Linked DNA regions of Homo sapiens: all the other regions are linked to region 1. Evidence: promoter capture Hi-C in 16 types of primary human blood cells and fetal thymus (Javierre and others, 2016). All regions are on one chromosome and are shown on one strand. The core of a region is centred on a gene start or on the middle of the fragment in contact, and the rest is flanking DNA. Distances in the headings are between cores, read along the strand shown.

What was found. Contacts are between HindIII fragments. The CHiCAGO score rates a contact against its expected background, and 5 or more counts as called.
Region 2: a fragment that was not itself captured here is called in contact with the fragment with the promoter of CHASERR in region 1 in 1 of 17 cell types (M0 macrophages); the score reaches 5.7 in M0 macrophages.
Region 3: a contact is called between a fragment that was not itself captured here and the fragment with the promoter of CHASERR in region 1, in 1 of 17 cell types (fetal thymus). The highest score is 8.1, in fetal thymus.

Annotation. Positions count from the first base shown.
Region 1 is chr15:92,881,593-92,886,626 of GRCh38, forward strand. It overlaps CHASERR (CHD2 adjacent suppressive regulatory RNA), which reads left to right and starts at 1,251. Exons shown (of 6, transcript NR_037601.1): 1 at 1,251-1,594; 2 at 1,993-2,186; 3 at 3,923-3,992; 4 at 4,577-4,662. RefSeq lists enhancers at 578-667, 1,093-1,734 and silencers at 978-1,107, 1,728-1,977. The HindIII fragment of the contact is 7,161 bases long and covers 1-4,385 here.
Region 2 is chr15:91,940,323-91,945,356 of GRCh38, forward strand. The region is part of intron 2 of SLCO3A1 (solute carrier organic anion transporter family member 3A1); the gene reads left to right. Among named protein-coding and RNA genes, the nearest start is that of SLCO3A1, 89 kb to the left of the region's middle. The HindIII fragment of the contact is 2,849 bases long and covers 1,710-4,558 here.
Region 3 is chr15:92,102,805-92,107,838 of GRCh38, forward strand. It overlaps SLCO3A1 (solute carrier organic anion transporter family member 3A1), which reads left to right. Exons shown (of 10, transcript NM_013272.4): 4 at 1,475-1,738. Among named protein-coding and RNA genes, the nearest start is that of SLCO3A1, 250 kb to the left of the region's middle. The HindIII fragment of the contact is 2,477 bases long and covers 667-3,143 here.

The DNA.
Region 1 (5,034 bases), core at 1-2,500:
AGAGAGCTACCTCTTTTTTTTTTCCCCATCCATTTCAGGAAAGTTTAGGTTTTCATTTTTTTCCTATGGTCTTCTTAGAGTTGTTTCCACGTTAAAGTAGGAAGAAGTAACGAAAAAAAAGTGAGATTTGCCGAAAGCAAATGAAACTTGTTTTGCCTGGTTCTCTGGAAGGAGGTTGAAAAGGTAGACTATGATTTTTCAGGTTCAAACTGCTACTCTAACAAACATTGTCCTACAGGGTGGAATCCAGTCAACCGGTATTGAGATTGATTCGCTAAGGCCTCAGGACACTGGACATTCTTTTTAATTGTTTTTTTTGATTTCCATGACGACAGCTCACAAGACACTAGACATTCTTTTAGGCTCTCAGGTAAATGCGCAACAGGCAGTCTACAAATCCACAAATAAATCGCATCTCAACTCGGATACTGGGGCTAGGGAATGTGCTGATGGTAAAACCATTGGTCCTGACTGTGTGACCTTCATGGAAGGCCTGGGTGCTTAGAACAAATATTTTGAGGATATGGCTGCTTGCCCAAGGGCTGTGGGCCTGTATCTTGTTTGCTCATCATCCTGTCAGTCATTTTTTTCTTTCCCTTTTTTTAAAGACAAAATCTGAACCTAGAAACACCGAAGCCAGAGCTTTTTCTAGACGCGAATCCACTATTTGTGCGACCCTGCACTAACCATTCTAGCCTGGCCTAGACCATACCAGGAACCCTCCAGCTAGCCTGGAGGGGTCCGCACTGCGGGGAAAAAAGCAACAGCTCAGCTCCAACCCCAAAGGTTCCATCACCAGCCAATCGTGGCCCGGGGCTTCTCAAGAAAACCAGAAACGCCTACGGACAGTGAATGGCACTAAGGCCAGCCTATCCGCACGAAGGAGGCGGAAGGGGTGGTGTTGAAATTAACCAATAGAATGGAAGAAGTTGTTGTTGGGAGGGAGGAAGACGCCAGCTAACGTGCGTGAGGCCGCTCCCGGATAGGGGATGCAGGAAGCTCGTGGAGCCAATGGCCGCGGCGGGCGGGCGGCGGCGCGCGTGCGCGTTGGCCCCCGGGCCTGCGGGCGGGAGGCGGGGATGGTGGGGGAGGGGAGCGGGCTGGAGCGCGGCGGAGCTCCTGCCGCCGCCGCAGCCGCTGCCGCCGCAGCGAAGAGGCCATGTTGTGTGGTGTGTGGGGCGGGGGGAGGAGGAGGAGGGAGTAAAGCCTAGAGAGGAGACGGGAGAGAGACACCACACACACGGCACAAGATGGCCGGAGAGGCAGCAGCACCCCGAGCTGTCAGGCGTTCCGCCGCGGCCGCGAGGCCCGCCGGCCGGCGGGGAGCTACGCCCGGACGGCCAGCAGGCCCGCGGGAGTGGGGCTGCCGCGGCTGAGGCGAGGCGGGCCGCGCGCGTCGGCGTCACAGCCCGCGGCAGAGGCGCCCAGGGCGGCCGGGCCCACGACGCCGAAAGCGCCGCTGCGGTTGCCGCCTCGGAGGCTCCCCCGGGCCCCGGCGGCTGGACCCGGCGCGGGCGGGAGGCTCGGGCGGGCGGTCCGGCCCGGGACTCGGGTTTGGGCGACCAGGAGGTGCCGGTGGCCGCGCTCGGACCCGGTGAGTGGCTCCCTAGCTCCTTTTATTGTCCTTTGTCCTTGGGAGGAAAAGCAAAATGTCCTTGAGCGCGCGAGCAGGAGGGGGCGGCGGGCCGGGCCTCGCCGCTCGGCTCTTCTCGCACTGCCCCTCCGTGGTCGGGGGCCGGCTCTCGCCGGCGGGATGCGCCTCGGTGCCCTGGGCCCGAGTCGTAGGGTCCTGGGGTAGGGGGCACGCGGGGCCCCGCTGCAGAGCCCGCGGGCGGCAGGTGGGCGGGGGGCAGCCTCGTCGCCGGGACTGGATCCGCCGGGAAAGGGGCGGCGGGTGAATGCCGGCGAGAGCCCGAAGGGGATCGGGCGTGGAGAGCCCCTTTCTGTCCTGGTGAGTTATTTTGATATTTAGGGTAAAAAAATCCCTTTCAGGTTCTCCAACGGAGGAGCTTTTTAACCTCTTTCCGGTGAGGTGGGAACTCATCTTCATGATCGAATTTAAAAGAACAATGGAACCCTGACTACGTTTCAACAAAAATAAAACTTGTTTTTTTCCCTCCTATTGGGTGTTGGCTTTTAACTCTTTCAAAGCCGATTTTGAAACGGCTGCAGTGATACATGCGAAGGTACTTGCTGCTTATTAAACCTTTATGACGTTAAGGTTGTCTTTGAAAAATGCAAGTTGGAGGAGTGCTTCTGGTATTTCAGAATTACGAAGACAAGTTTACTGTGTCGTCAAGGCTGTTTAATGGAAATAGATTTGATAATTACGGTGCTAGCTAGCTGATGACGTTTGGTTAATGTAGTTTATTTTACCGAGTAATGACGCCAAGATCATTTGATCTCCTGATATTTAAATATGATTAAATACACTGTTTGGTACTTTTTAAAAAGGTCTCAAGGAGCCGTTATCTGCAACTTCTCACACCTGAATGTTAGAACGTACTTGGGTCAATTCCTAGTCTTTAAAAGTTCATAATTTAATTATTTTTAAGAATTTATATTATCACAAGCCATGATCGAAAAACTTTCACAAAAGAACATTCTGACACCAAATCTCTTCCTGAAGTTACTTTCTCGTAATGTAAATATGAATAAAGTAGGACTGCTCTCGGTAATGGGCGATGAAGAGGAGCCATATTTGTTGCATTTGTTGCATGTATAAAAATCTAGATATGCTTAAAACGGAACAGTATTTTAAAAGTACAGGTTTCATAAAATTTAGTAGAGTTCTCTGTATAGTCTCTAATCTTAGAAAAATGTTGGAAGGGTAATTTTTAAGTGTAGTGGTTTGAAGAACAAACCAGAAGCGCACAAACCTTTGTGTATTTTAGAATATATTTGTCTTCATTCTGCGGAGCTCTTGTGTTGTAAAGGTGCAGAACTACGTAAAAATAGTGTTGGGCAGACTTACATAGTACATCTGAAATCAGATACTGGTTTATTCGACCATATTTCTAAGGGCATTTTTCCAGTAAAATTGTTTTATTTTTTGAGTAGCCTTCCTATAGTGGTACATGTTACATCAGTTGCGCATATCTTGATTTTACAGAATCTGTCTTAAGTACCAATTTTGGTTTTTCAAATCAATGTTTCTGAAATTTTTGAACACTGAAAGTGGTTTTAAATGAATATTCTGAATCTAGTTCTTTAGAATCCTCTTTGAATTGTGAAATGCAAAATAATTGTTAGCAGTTTAACCTGAAAGATCTTTTTACATGATAAATGGGGGAGGAGAAAGACTGAAATGAAAATGTTGAAGACCCTGATTTGAAATTGAGTGTAAAGGTCTAGATACTGTAAGTTTTAGAGTAGCTTTAGAGACAAAGCTAGTATCCCACTTGGTGAGATCAAGTAACTTGTGGTTTAAAATTTAAAGTAACCAGTGGCCATTTTAACTTCACTAATTTCTCTTGGAGGAGCTAATTTTTAATTGCTCATGATTGTAAAACATACTTCCGGATGGTAAGGGAGATGTTAAGATGATTTGTCTTGAAGAATGGTAAACTTTTTCTTTGTTTATTGCCTGTCATAAAAAGAGGGAAAGTAAAAAAAAAAAGGTTCATAATCTTAAATCAGTCCAAAAATTTGAATTTTCTGTATTTCTGTTTAATTCAATGCGTTAATCTTTAGCATTGGTCAATACAGCCAAAAGATGAGGAAAACAAAGACTGATAGATACTAAGATAAGAAATAACTGCAACCATAAATGTATACAGGTTATGTGTCCATGAGCCATCTCTTCAGTTTGCCCATAGATTTTTGTCTGTGGAATATTTTCTTGTTTCATCACACTGAATCGTTGGCCAAGAAATGCTTGAAAATCAAAACATTAATATCATCTTTCTTCTTTTTTTTAAAGGTGACTTAAGAGATTAAAATTAATTTGGTTGCTGTTGGTTCTGAACAAATAATGAGTTCTTTTATTTGAGGTAAGAGTGGGTTAATTTTTATTGTTTTGACAAAAATTAGCTTATTAGGCTTTTGTTTTATCTTTAATAATTTACATTTCAATTAATGAATGGGTATCATTTTTAAAAGTTGTGATTATGAATATGAGTAAACTATCAAATAATTTGACAAAAGCCTTTAAGCCTTTTCACTGCAGGAAAGATTAAAAGTATATACGCATAGCCATTGTAACTTAATGTACCCTTTGAATAGTTTAAAATACTGAAGGTCCTTTAAGCCTTTGTTTAATTTTGGGAACAAGAGAAGACTGATTAGATTTTGAGGAAAACCATGAACCAAAGATAGCTTTTTTTTTCTGTTTAACTCTGTATATTGTGCAAACAATTTTAATCTTTTAAGTATTTAAAGAAATAAGCTTATTGGAGAATTTGAACTAGTTTGCTATTCATACTGATAGATTTTAGGGAAGAACATTTAAAAAATCAGGTTTTGAGCATAGATTTTAGTTTCTTTTTTGTAATTAAAAAGTTTAAAAACACTTATTTTTACTTGCTATTGTTTGCTTCATAATTAAGTTTAGAATCTTATTTGTTTTCACCAAAAGGTATGCCATTTTGAAGACTGAGACGTTGGAGTTTTATCCTAGAGGATAAAGGAAATCTTTGGGAAAGTCAGTATTTTATATAGCAAGTAAGTAAATGTTTTTACCCAACATCTGCAATTGAATAGTTACCAACATTTAAGTAGAAAAATACCATTAAAGTTTGTTAATGAAACAAACTGTAGACTACTTATCACTGAAAGGATGAGAAAACCATCAAATTTCTTTGCCTGACATTGAAAACACTTCTATTACTATCAAGACAGTCGATGCATGTAATTTATATTGGAGCAGGAAGACATTTAGTACTTCTTAATAAAATGGTGCTTTAGGATTGTGGTTAAATCTGCAGTAAAGTCATCAAGATTATGTTTTTACAAATCTGGTATATACAGTCTTAAGCCTTTTTTTTTTTTTTTTTTTGATTGTACAAATCACATTTTAGGAATGGTCTGGAATTT
Region 2 (5,034 bases), core at 1,884-4,383, 940 kb before region 1:
AGTCTGTGCCAGCACCTTGCTGAGCACTTCACAGCCCGTGAGACTCCCCCAAGCAGCTTTTATGGAAGAGGGGATCCAGACTCAGGGACATTGGCTTAAAGAGGTTGTAGCCAGTCCCCAGGGGCCACTGACTCCAGACCCAGGTGCATATCACAGTGCCAAGGGGCCTTTCTGTGCTTACAGAAATGAATCAGTTGGCATAGTGAATTTCAAATCAGTGCTTAAACTGATGGCCCTTTTTGTGGTTCAGGAAATTTGTGACAGGGTGATCCAAGAGCACCACTCATCTGGCACCCTCTGTCACTCAAAAAACCCCTGACACACACTCACATGCTCATGTGAGTCGACTGTTTCCTCCTGGCTGTGTTTGTACCAGTGTGCCTGTGAGTATTGATCAGGGTTCAGGGGCATCCTCCACAACCCAGAGAATGAATGCCCTGTGTAAATCCCCCTTTCTATGGGGAGATGTGAGTGAGTGAGTGGTGAATGAGCGAATATTCTGCTTCCTGATTGCTGCCTCTCTGAGCAAGGTGTCTGCCCCCTCCTAACCACCCCAGCATTTCTGGAAACCCTTGAGAACATTCCACTTGGGAGCTGCTAAATGTTAATGAGGGATCAGGTCAAGAGGGGCCCCCTTGACCTTTGCCCTTGGGCTTTGCCACCCTGCCGTTTTAGGAGGGTGATTTATTGAAGTGAAGGTAGAGGGAGTGGGTGGAAAGGAAATCACCCTTTAAAATTTATGACCATTTTCTCTGACATTAACGTGCAAGCCTCTGGCCGTGCAATTAGAGGTTGTTAGGCAGCTACAATGGGAAATTAATTCTGTAGGCTCCCTTGCCTGGTTGTGGGCAGCACTGCTCCAGGGCAGGTGGAAAGTAGGCTTGTTTCACTGGCCTGGCCGGAAGGTTGTAGTGTTCTCCTGAGAAGGGAATGTGAGCTGGTTTAGGTGTGTTGGGGCAGGGCGGGGCTCGGCTGGGGGGTGGGAGAGAGACACTGAATCAGTGCATGAGTGACCAGCTAGGACTGAGCCCAAAGACCTGAGATTCCCTGGGAGGCTGTGGGGTCTGCCACCCAGCAGATCTGTGTCACGGGAGTGGCGCTGTCACTCGTTGAGGTGGTGGCCTGGTTCCTTTGGCCTTAGGGAAGGACAAACTTCAACTCTGAGCCTTGATTGAGTGACCTTGGCCAAGTTACCTAGCTTTTCTGAGCCTCACTTTCTTGGCAATTAGATGAACCAGAGGTTTATTTCACTCAGTAAGTAATCTTTTCTCTTCCTTCGTCTTGGAGGTTTTGAAGCTTCTAATCTCCCATGGGTTTTGTACTTTTTCTTACTCGGGATGTTTGTTTCTCTTTGTCTTTAAAAAAATTATTTTTCCTCCTTTTTAATTTTTATGTTTAAAATATCTTCTATTCATTAACCTTCATGGAGCTTGTCTGTGTGCAACTTCATCTGAGAGCGCTCAGGCTTCCCTCTCTCCTCTGCCCAATGCAGTGCTTTGCATACTGTAGGAGCTGCATAAATGCCACTGGCTTATGGGCATCTGCAGTTCTGAGAGTGAGGGCTGGGGGCTGGTCTTAGGAGGGCAGCTCTCAGGCTACAAATGGGGGCTTGCACCAGCGTACTGGCTGAGGACTGCCTGCCTTTGAGCTAGGTCTTACCCATCCACGACAAAAATGAGAGAACAGTACAAGGTGGAGAGTTTGTCATAAGCTTAATTTATTCAATTTAGAGTCTTGTTCTTTATTCTAGACAATGCCACCACCTACTGTTTTGCTGTTTAAATGTACCTAATTTTAGGAAATCATAATTTTGGATCACGGCAGCTTTTCTTATTAAAATTTTACTTGTAGAAATAAAAAGGTGGCACCTCTGTCATTTACCCCTCAATATTTTATATTTGACTCTTCTGTGAAATCCAAAAATGTAGCAACTGCTGAACCCCACAATGTCTGATCTATAGCAGGCATTTCAGAGCCTCCAGGACTTGATTAGATATTGTTACACAGTGGTGATATGAGAACACACACCTGTCCATCGTTGAGATTTTGTTTTATGTATATTCCTATAGCTGTGCAGGTAAAACATGCCATTTAGCAGTGCTACTATGGCACAACTGCAGGGGGCACCATGTAGAGACCGTAGTTGGATGTGGCCTGGAGTTGTGTGTCAGTGGCCATCCCTCTTAGATTGACGATGCCCAGGCTCACTGGTTTTCAAACTTTGTTTTGCAACAGAACTCTGCTGGAAATGTATGTTTGTTTGTTTGTTTGTTTGTTTCGAGACCGAGTCTTGCTCTGTCGACCAGGCTGGATTGCAGTGGCCCAATCTCAGCTCACTGCAACCTCCACCTCCTGGGTGAAGGTAATTCCCAAGAAGCTGGAATTACAGGCGTGCACCACCACGCCCGGCTAATTTTTGAAAAGAGATGGGGTTTCTCCATGTTGGCCAGCCTGGTCTCAAATTCCTGACCTAAAGTGATCAGGTCACTGATCACTCCTCCCAAGGAGCTGGAATTACAGGCATGAGCCACCACACCCAGCCCTTTGCTGGAAATCTTAAGGGGAGTTCCCCTATTGATCAGACAGAGCAGAACTGCTCTGCCCGAGTGGGCGTGGGGCCCAGGGCCCAGCCGTTTGACCTCGTTCTGCCTCCCTTTCTCTCCTAAAAGCATCTCCCTTGACCTTCTGTCCTTGTAATTAATTCAGGTCTCCACAGAGCACACTGAAAACCTCAGGTCTAGTCTCATTTCCATTTTATAGAAATTGATGGTAAAAGACACATAGCATAAAACGTAGCATCTTACCCATTTGTAAGTGTGCAGCCTAGTAGTGTTAAGGACACTCCCAGTGTTGTGCAATCTCCAGAATGTTTCGTGTTGCAAAACCGAAACTGCACTCATTAAACAACTCCCCATTCCCCCTCCCCTCAGCCCTTGGCAACCACCAGTGTGCTTCCTTCTGTCTCTGTGAGTCTTGCTATCCTAGTTACCTCCTGGAAGTGGAACCCTACAGTATCTGTCCTTTTGTGACTGGTTTACTTCACTTAGTATCATGTCCTCAAGGTTCATCCAAGTTGTAGCCTGTGTCAGAATTTCCTTCCTTTTTAAGGCAGAATCATATTTCATTGTAGGTGTAAACCATATTTTGTTTATCCATTCATCTGCTATGGACACTAGGATTGCTTGCACCTATGGCTGCTGTGAATTAATGCTGCTATGAACCATAGGTGTGCAAAATGTCTTTTGAGTTCCTGCTTTTAATTCTCTTGCTTACACCCAGAAATGGAAATGCTGGATTATATGGTAATTCCATGTTTAATTTTTCGAGGAACCGCCATACTGTTTTTCATACCCAGTGCATAATTTTCATGTCTCATTGTTGATAAAATAGAGGTGACTAGGAGGCTCCAGGAAGAAGCCAGAGCCCCAGAGGACACAGAATGGCCTGGGAATGTATTCCCTCCATCTGTGCTAGGTCATGATTTGGGCATCGCTGGCTTCCTCTCCCCAGAGGCCAGCTCTTGCTGGATTCCAATGACCTGGTTCCCTCTTTGTGCCTCTTCAGGGCTACCCTCTGGTGACTGCCTCCCATGTTGCTTGTCTTGGGTGCCTTAGCATCCCTCGGTGGGTCCCTTGGCTCTGCCTTCACTTCTGTCAATAGACCTCCATTAGCTGCTCTTCATTGGAAACTTTTGAGCGTGCCATTTGCTACCTGCACATCTTGTCTGATATAATTACTAGCAGGATGACCTTGGGCACATTGCACAACCTCACTGTACCTCAGTTTCCTTCATCTATAAACTGCCTCCCTAGGGTTGCTGATGTATGTTGATCTATTACAAAGGACTGAAAACAGCCACTGGCACATAGGAAGCCCTCACGTAAGTGTTCACCATTATTTGTATGATTACCATATCCCTGTGCAAGGTCCCTCCTAAGATGTAAGCTGCCTTAGGTCTCCAGGGCTCCCCCTTTGGAATGTGAGCCCCTTACAGATTCAGTACCTGATTTCTGGGCTTCGAGGCAAGACAGACATGGCCAAGGGGAGAAAAGCAGTATTGGAAGGATGCTCCCAGACCTATCCACCAAAGTGAGACAAAGCATTGGGTGAACCCTCTTCTCAGTACCAGCTTCACAGAATAGTAAGCAGCTGCAGCGTGGGGCTCAGAGTGGCTTTGGCTTCTGTGCTTACTTAGCAAGTGATCCGTCACAAGTCCTGCCAGCTCCCTTTGGAACTCTGTCACCCCGCTCAGCCATGGACAAGCAGACAGCCACGGATATTATGACAATGCAAGTCCTGGAGGGTTTGCATCTCTGATATGGAGGAGTCAGAGTAATCCTTCCCACTCTCCCCCGAGATGCTTTTCAAAGAGGAGCCTGCTTTGAGTTCTGAACATCTGAGTCTTTCACGAAGGAATGTGGAGAAATCGAGGGGGCTTTTCTTCCCTGCAGAACTGATGATGGCCATCCAGAGGGGGAAAGGCACGAGCAGGCTCCCTCTCTCTCTCTTTCTCTCCCCCTCTTTTTTTGGGTGCAACAGAAACCTTGCACTTCCCTTAAGCTTTCTGTAGTACATGTTAAGATTCCTCTGCCACGCCCAAATTTCAACTTTTCTCCAATATTCTCTTTAACTTAGAATGAGGACTCAGGCCCTAATTGAATTGTCTTTGAACAGTTTTTGTTCTGAGCTATGAACTGTATATTCCCTTTATTCACCCAACAGATATTTATTAAATATTTTTGGTTGGGCATGGTGGCTCATGCCTGTAATCCCAGCACTTTGGGAGGCCGAGGCAGGCGATCACGAGGTCAGGAGTTCGAGACACCCTGACCAACATGGTGAAACCCTGTCTCTACTAAAAATACAAAAATTAGCTGGGCATGGTGGCGTGTGCCTGTAATCTCAGCTACTTGGGAGGCTGAGGCAGGAGAATCACTTGAACCTGGGAGGCTGAGGTTGCAGTGAACCTAGATTATACCATTGCACTTCAACCTGGGAGACAGAGTGAGACTCCATCTCAAAAAAAAAAAAAAA
Region 3 (5,034 bases), core at 655-3,154, 780 kb before region 1:
GCCCAAAAACAGACATTGAAGAGGGGCAGTGGAACAGAAAGGTGAGAGCGTGGACCTTGGCATGTGTATACCTGTGTTCCGTTCTTCAGCCCCATGAACCTGGGCAACGAACCTAACCTTTCTAAGCCTCAGTTACTCCATCTATAGAAAACAGATAATAAAAGTCCTGCCTTGTAGAGTTATGGGGAAGGTTGGCTGGAACAGTTAAGAATGTGCTCTGCATAATGCCTGGTGCAGAGGAAGCCCTCAATAAACGATGGCTGGCCTTATCATTAATGCTAGCTGAGGAGTCTTCAGGGAGAACATTTTATGAGTGCTGAAGTGTTCATCTGGTGTGTGCGGTCATTACTCTTCCCAGAGCTGTCCATCCATCTGGTCCAGGCCTGCAGCCCTGTTGGTCTTACCTCATACACCATTGCCCAGATCTCCCCAGTTCTCCTTCCATGTTCCAGGGGCATGGTTTATTATCAAAGAGACATTTCTAAGCAGCTCACCTGGGAGCTGTGCTGTACAAGGCAGGTGTAAAGAGAGAGAAAGAAAAAAACTGTACCAAAGGGTAAGCTGAAGTTTATGTTCTTGTGACTTAGCTGGCACAATAAAAGAAATAGTGGTACAGTGCCACCAAACCATATGCATAGCCCCTTTAAGCACATGAGTTGACTGCAAAGCTTTGTATTAGAGAGCTGGTGCCAAACCACAGGCCACCAACAAAGTTGGCATTAATTAATTAATTAATGCATGGAAACAAAGGCCCCTCACCATAAATAACAGGCTACCATCATCTGGGTGCCCAAGCATGCGCCAGGCACTCTTCTGAGCATTTTATGTCTGGTGTGGTCATTTGATCTTCCCACTAAGTACTGCCATCATCCTAGATGTTATACAGATCAGTAAACTGAGGCATAGAGAGTTCAAACCACTGGCCTAGGGTCACACAGAGACAAAGGGGTAGGACTTCAACCCAGGCAGCCTGGCTTCAGAGGCCCTGCTCTAAAACCCTATTGTGCGCCTCCCCTTATGAGCTGTGAACCTAAATTGAGGCAGTGAGTGGGGCATTGAGTGGGATCTCGTGTGAGCTGCTTTTTGGAAGCCAAGAGTGAATATACCCGGTGAAAATCTACCTCTGAACAATAAACATTTCCTTGTGCTTCTTTCAGTACACCTTAGCAGTGCTGCCAAGCCAGTTTTAGCCTAAATTCAGAGAACGTCTGGCTTCTCACTGTTTTTGTTTAGACCGATATAAACACAGGGTAGACAAGAAAATTAAGGGGGGAATGTGATCAGCCTCCGGCTTTGAGAGAAACAGAACCGCTGGTGTGGAACAATAGGCTTCGTAGCCTGGCAGCCAGTGTTCCCGACCGCAAGTCATTTCTAGAGCCCTTGCCCTCTCTGTTCAGCGGATTCAGATTCTCAGCAAAATCCCCAGTGGTCCAGCCTTCTTTTCTCCACTAAGCTGTGCTCTTTCCATTTACAGGTAACCTGGACATCACTCCGGACGACCCCCGCTGGATCGGAGCCTGGTGGGGTGGCTTTCTGCTCTGCGGTGCCTTACTCTTCTTCTCTTCCCTCTTGATGTTTGGGTTTCCACAGTCCCTGCCCCCGCACTCAGAGCCCGCCATGGAAAGCGAGCAGGCCATGCTCTCCGAAAGAGAATACGAGAGACCCAAGCCCAGCAACGGGGTCCTGAGGCACCCCCTGGAGCCAGACAGCAGTGCCTCCTGTTTCCAGCAGCTGAGAGGTAAAGGTGGCCTCATCTGCCTCTGCTCAGAACAGTAGGGGGATTGGGATGGGGGTGATGAATGAAGGGGTGGCACCCAGGACTGGGGTGCTTGGGGACTTGGTGGAGGCAGAATAATATTGGCTTGCATGGCTGGCCTCTACCAGCCAGGTGCTTAACTTATTCCTGAGAAGTAAATAACCTGACTTGCTTAATAAAAACAAAAATAAAGTAGCTACCATTTGTTAAAGGGACCCAGTGGTTAATATAGGACCTGACATTTAATAAACATAAATGTCTTCAGAAGGAAGCAAAATATTCTGTGGAGCTTTTTTGAATTCTTTCAGGCCACCCATAAGCACCTGGAAGCAATAAAGGAATTTTGAAGTTGGCTTCCTTTGCCTGATATCAGCATTCTTTGAAAAGCCACCTCCAGCCGGGCGCGGTGGCTGTAATCCCAGCCACCGCGCCCGGTGTAATCACATCTGTAATCCCAGCCCTTTGGGAAGCCAAGGCAGGTGGATCACTTGAGGTCAGAAGTTTGAGACCAGCCTGGCCAACGTGGTGAAACCCCATATCTGCTAAAATACAAAAATTAGCCGGGCTTGGTGGCATGTGCCTGTAATCCCAGCTACTCGGGAGGCTGAGGCAGGAGAATCGCTTGATCCTGGGTTCAAGCTCACCAGAGGTTGCAGTGAGCCAAGATTGAGCCACTGCACTCCAGCCTGGGTGACACAGCAAGACTCTCATCTCAAAAGAAAAAAAAGCCACCTTCAAAGTACATTTCTTTACATTCACTTTGTCCTTTCATTGTCTCCACTAAAGATGAGAGATGTTTTCCTGCAGAAAGAAATATTAACCCAGTCTTAATGACACAGTCACACTTTAGGATGCAGCAAAGCTCTTGCTATCATTTTTTAAAGAAAAAAAAGTGCAACTTTTCTGACAAAATGGTGAAGCACAAACAATGATGCAGAGTGAGAACCCCCCTCCACCACCACCGCCCAAGTTGTTTCCATCTTCGGCACAATCCTTTAAAGACGAGGAAAATGACAAGGAGCTGAATGTAGCCTGGCAGTCTCAGAAGCTGCTCGGCGACTATCAGGCGAGGTATGTGTGAGGTTCCTTAATGCACACGACTCCTTGCTCAGCTCCCCTGACGTCCTGCTGGATTTTAGAAATGAGTGGGCTCATGCAGCCAGGAGCAAGGTCAGGCACTACTTCCCAGGGAAGCTGGGATGCAGAAGGGAGATGGTCAGTCCCCTCTGTGCAGGAATGCGGCACTCAGCCGGGCCAGCCTTCCACAGCGGCAGATGCAGTCCTCCTGTGCTTTATTTAGACATTTCCTAGCAGTGAAAGTCTGTTTACTAAACTTCTGTGTAACAATGTGCGCCTTCTATAGAGATGCTAGAGATTTGTGGAGAGAAGCTTGAACTGCTTTGTGCTCAGCCCCCTGTTCTGTTCCTCACCAGCCCTGCGATCATTAACTGCCCCCTGCTTCTTTTCCACGAATGTAAAACTGTAATAACACAGTTCCTCACTGCCAGTGCTGTCTCAAGAATGAAAGCACTGCTGCAGAAGACTGTCTGTTAATCGTACCTGTTAGTCCATGAGAAATCTCAAGAACTTGTGCGATTTCTGAAAAGAGACAAATTTAATATCGTAATGTTATGTCTGGCCCCATGTTCCATGATGGTTTCTACCAATGCTGTAATTTGGAATCATCCATAAAACTTAAGTTCCAGAATGCACCGGTAGATGAGAAGGCCAGCCAATCTGTGTCCTCTAAGGTTGCCTTGGTTGGAATGCCCCCGTCCTCATGCACGTGTGCTTAATAAAATAGGCTCACTTCCAGCAGGCCCCAGGCAAGGAGGGTGCCTGCGACTCCCCTAGTAGCAGGAGAGTGATGCCTGAGACTCCCCTAATAGCCATCCATAGAAAGTGTCCTGGTAACTAGACCCCTAGGAATAAATTGGGCAGGCATGAGAGTGTGGCTTTCAAAGGACATCCTGGCCATGGGCGACTACAGTATTTTCAGGTTGCTCCCCACCTCGGGATGATGACCCTGTTTCCCTAGGGCTCTGATTGTAAAAGCTGCACTAGTAATCACTTGTCTTTCATCTCTGGGAATAAAAAGATTAAAAAGATACAATGGTGCCATCAGAGAACTCACCATCCCACACAGGACCAGGTCTGCAAGTCAGCAAAGGCAGCCCAGTGTTTTGAGAACCGCAATAACAAGCAGCACAGGTGGTTACAGAAATGCAGCAAAGAGGCAGAGAGAAGCCCACCGCTCCTGGGCTGGGAGTCACGGGTGAGGAAAGGGTCAGCGGCAGAGCTGAGCCAAGTCTTGAGCCCTGCTATGGCTTAAGCATTCTTGGGTCATGATTCAGTCGCTCATTAACTCATTTGTTTTATTCCATTGGTAGTTACTGAGACCCTACTCGGTGCTAAGCACAGCCTTGACTAAATTGACTTATATTCTGGAGCTTATGTTCCACTAGGGTGCAATAGGCAAGCTCAGAGCAATGACAAGGTAAGCAAGCACTGGATGAGCTGCCGTTGAGCTGACAAGTACACAGTCAGGTAGACAAGTCTGGGACCCGCGAGGCCATATTGATTACAAATTGTGATCTGTATACGCACAGGCTTCACTTCTGATGGTTAATGATTTTAATTTAGAATTAACAATTCCCAGAGGCAATTGGCCCATAATGGACTAAAAGGATGTCTCAACAGGAAAAGAAGAAAGTGTTTCTGCAAGATTCCTTAAGAGCCAAAATACAGTGAAATGAGCTATTATGCTAATAAACACATTTTACACATGCCAGTGCATGAAGTGGGGCCACAGTCGTTTACATGATTTATTTCTCCATGCGAGACACATGTTTTTGCTATACGAGCTTTTCCACCAAAAGCACCATGCAGTGCACCCTGGCATTCCAAAACCCTTCATCCAGTTTGCATCCTGGAAAACCCACGCTGCAAATGCAGTGCTATATACATGCAGTGTGTTACACATTTGTGGGTTTCAATAAGCTGAACGGCGTTGCATGTATACATAGAACTGACATTGCTCCTAAAACCCCATGTTGCAATTTCTCATCCGTTTTGTCTGAGCTTCCAAATGGGTTTCTTCTTTGGCCATCAATCTGTGCCCCCTGCCATGCTCTGCAGACAGCAAAGGCCCCCTGATAAGAGCTGGCATTATGCCAGGAAGAGCCCTTCCAGCCCCCTCTTCTCTGGAACTTAGAGTCTTCTCCTGCTTCTAGGAGAGAAGGGGGCTGTCTGCTTTGAGGCAGATCCACCTGGGTTAA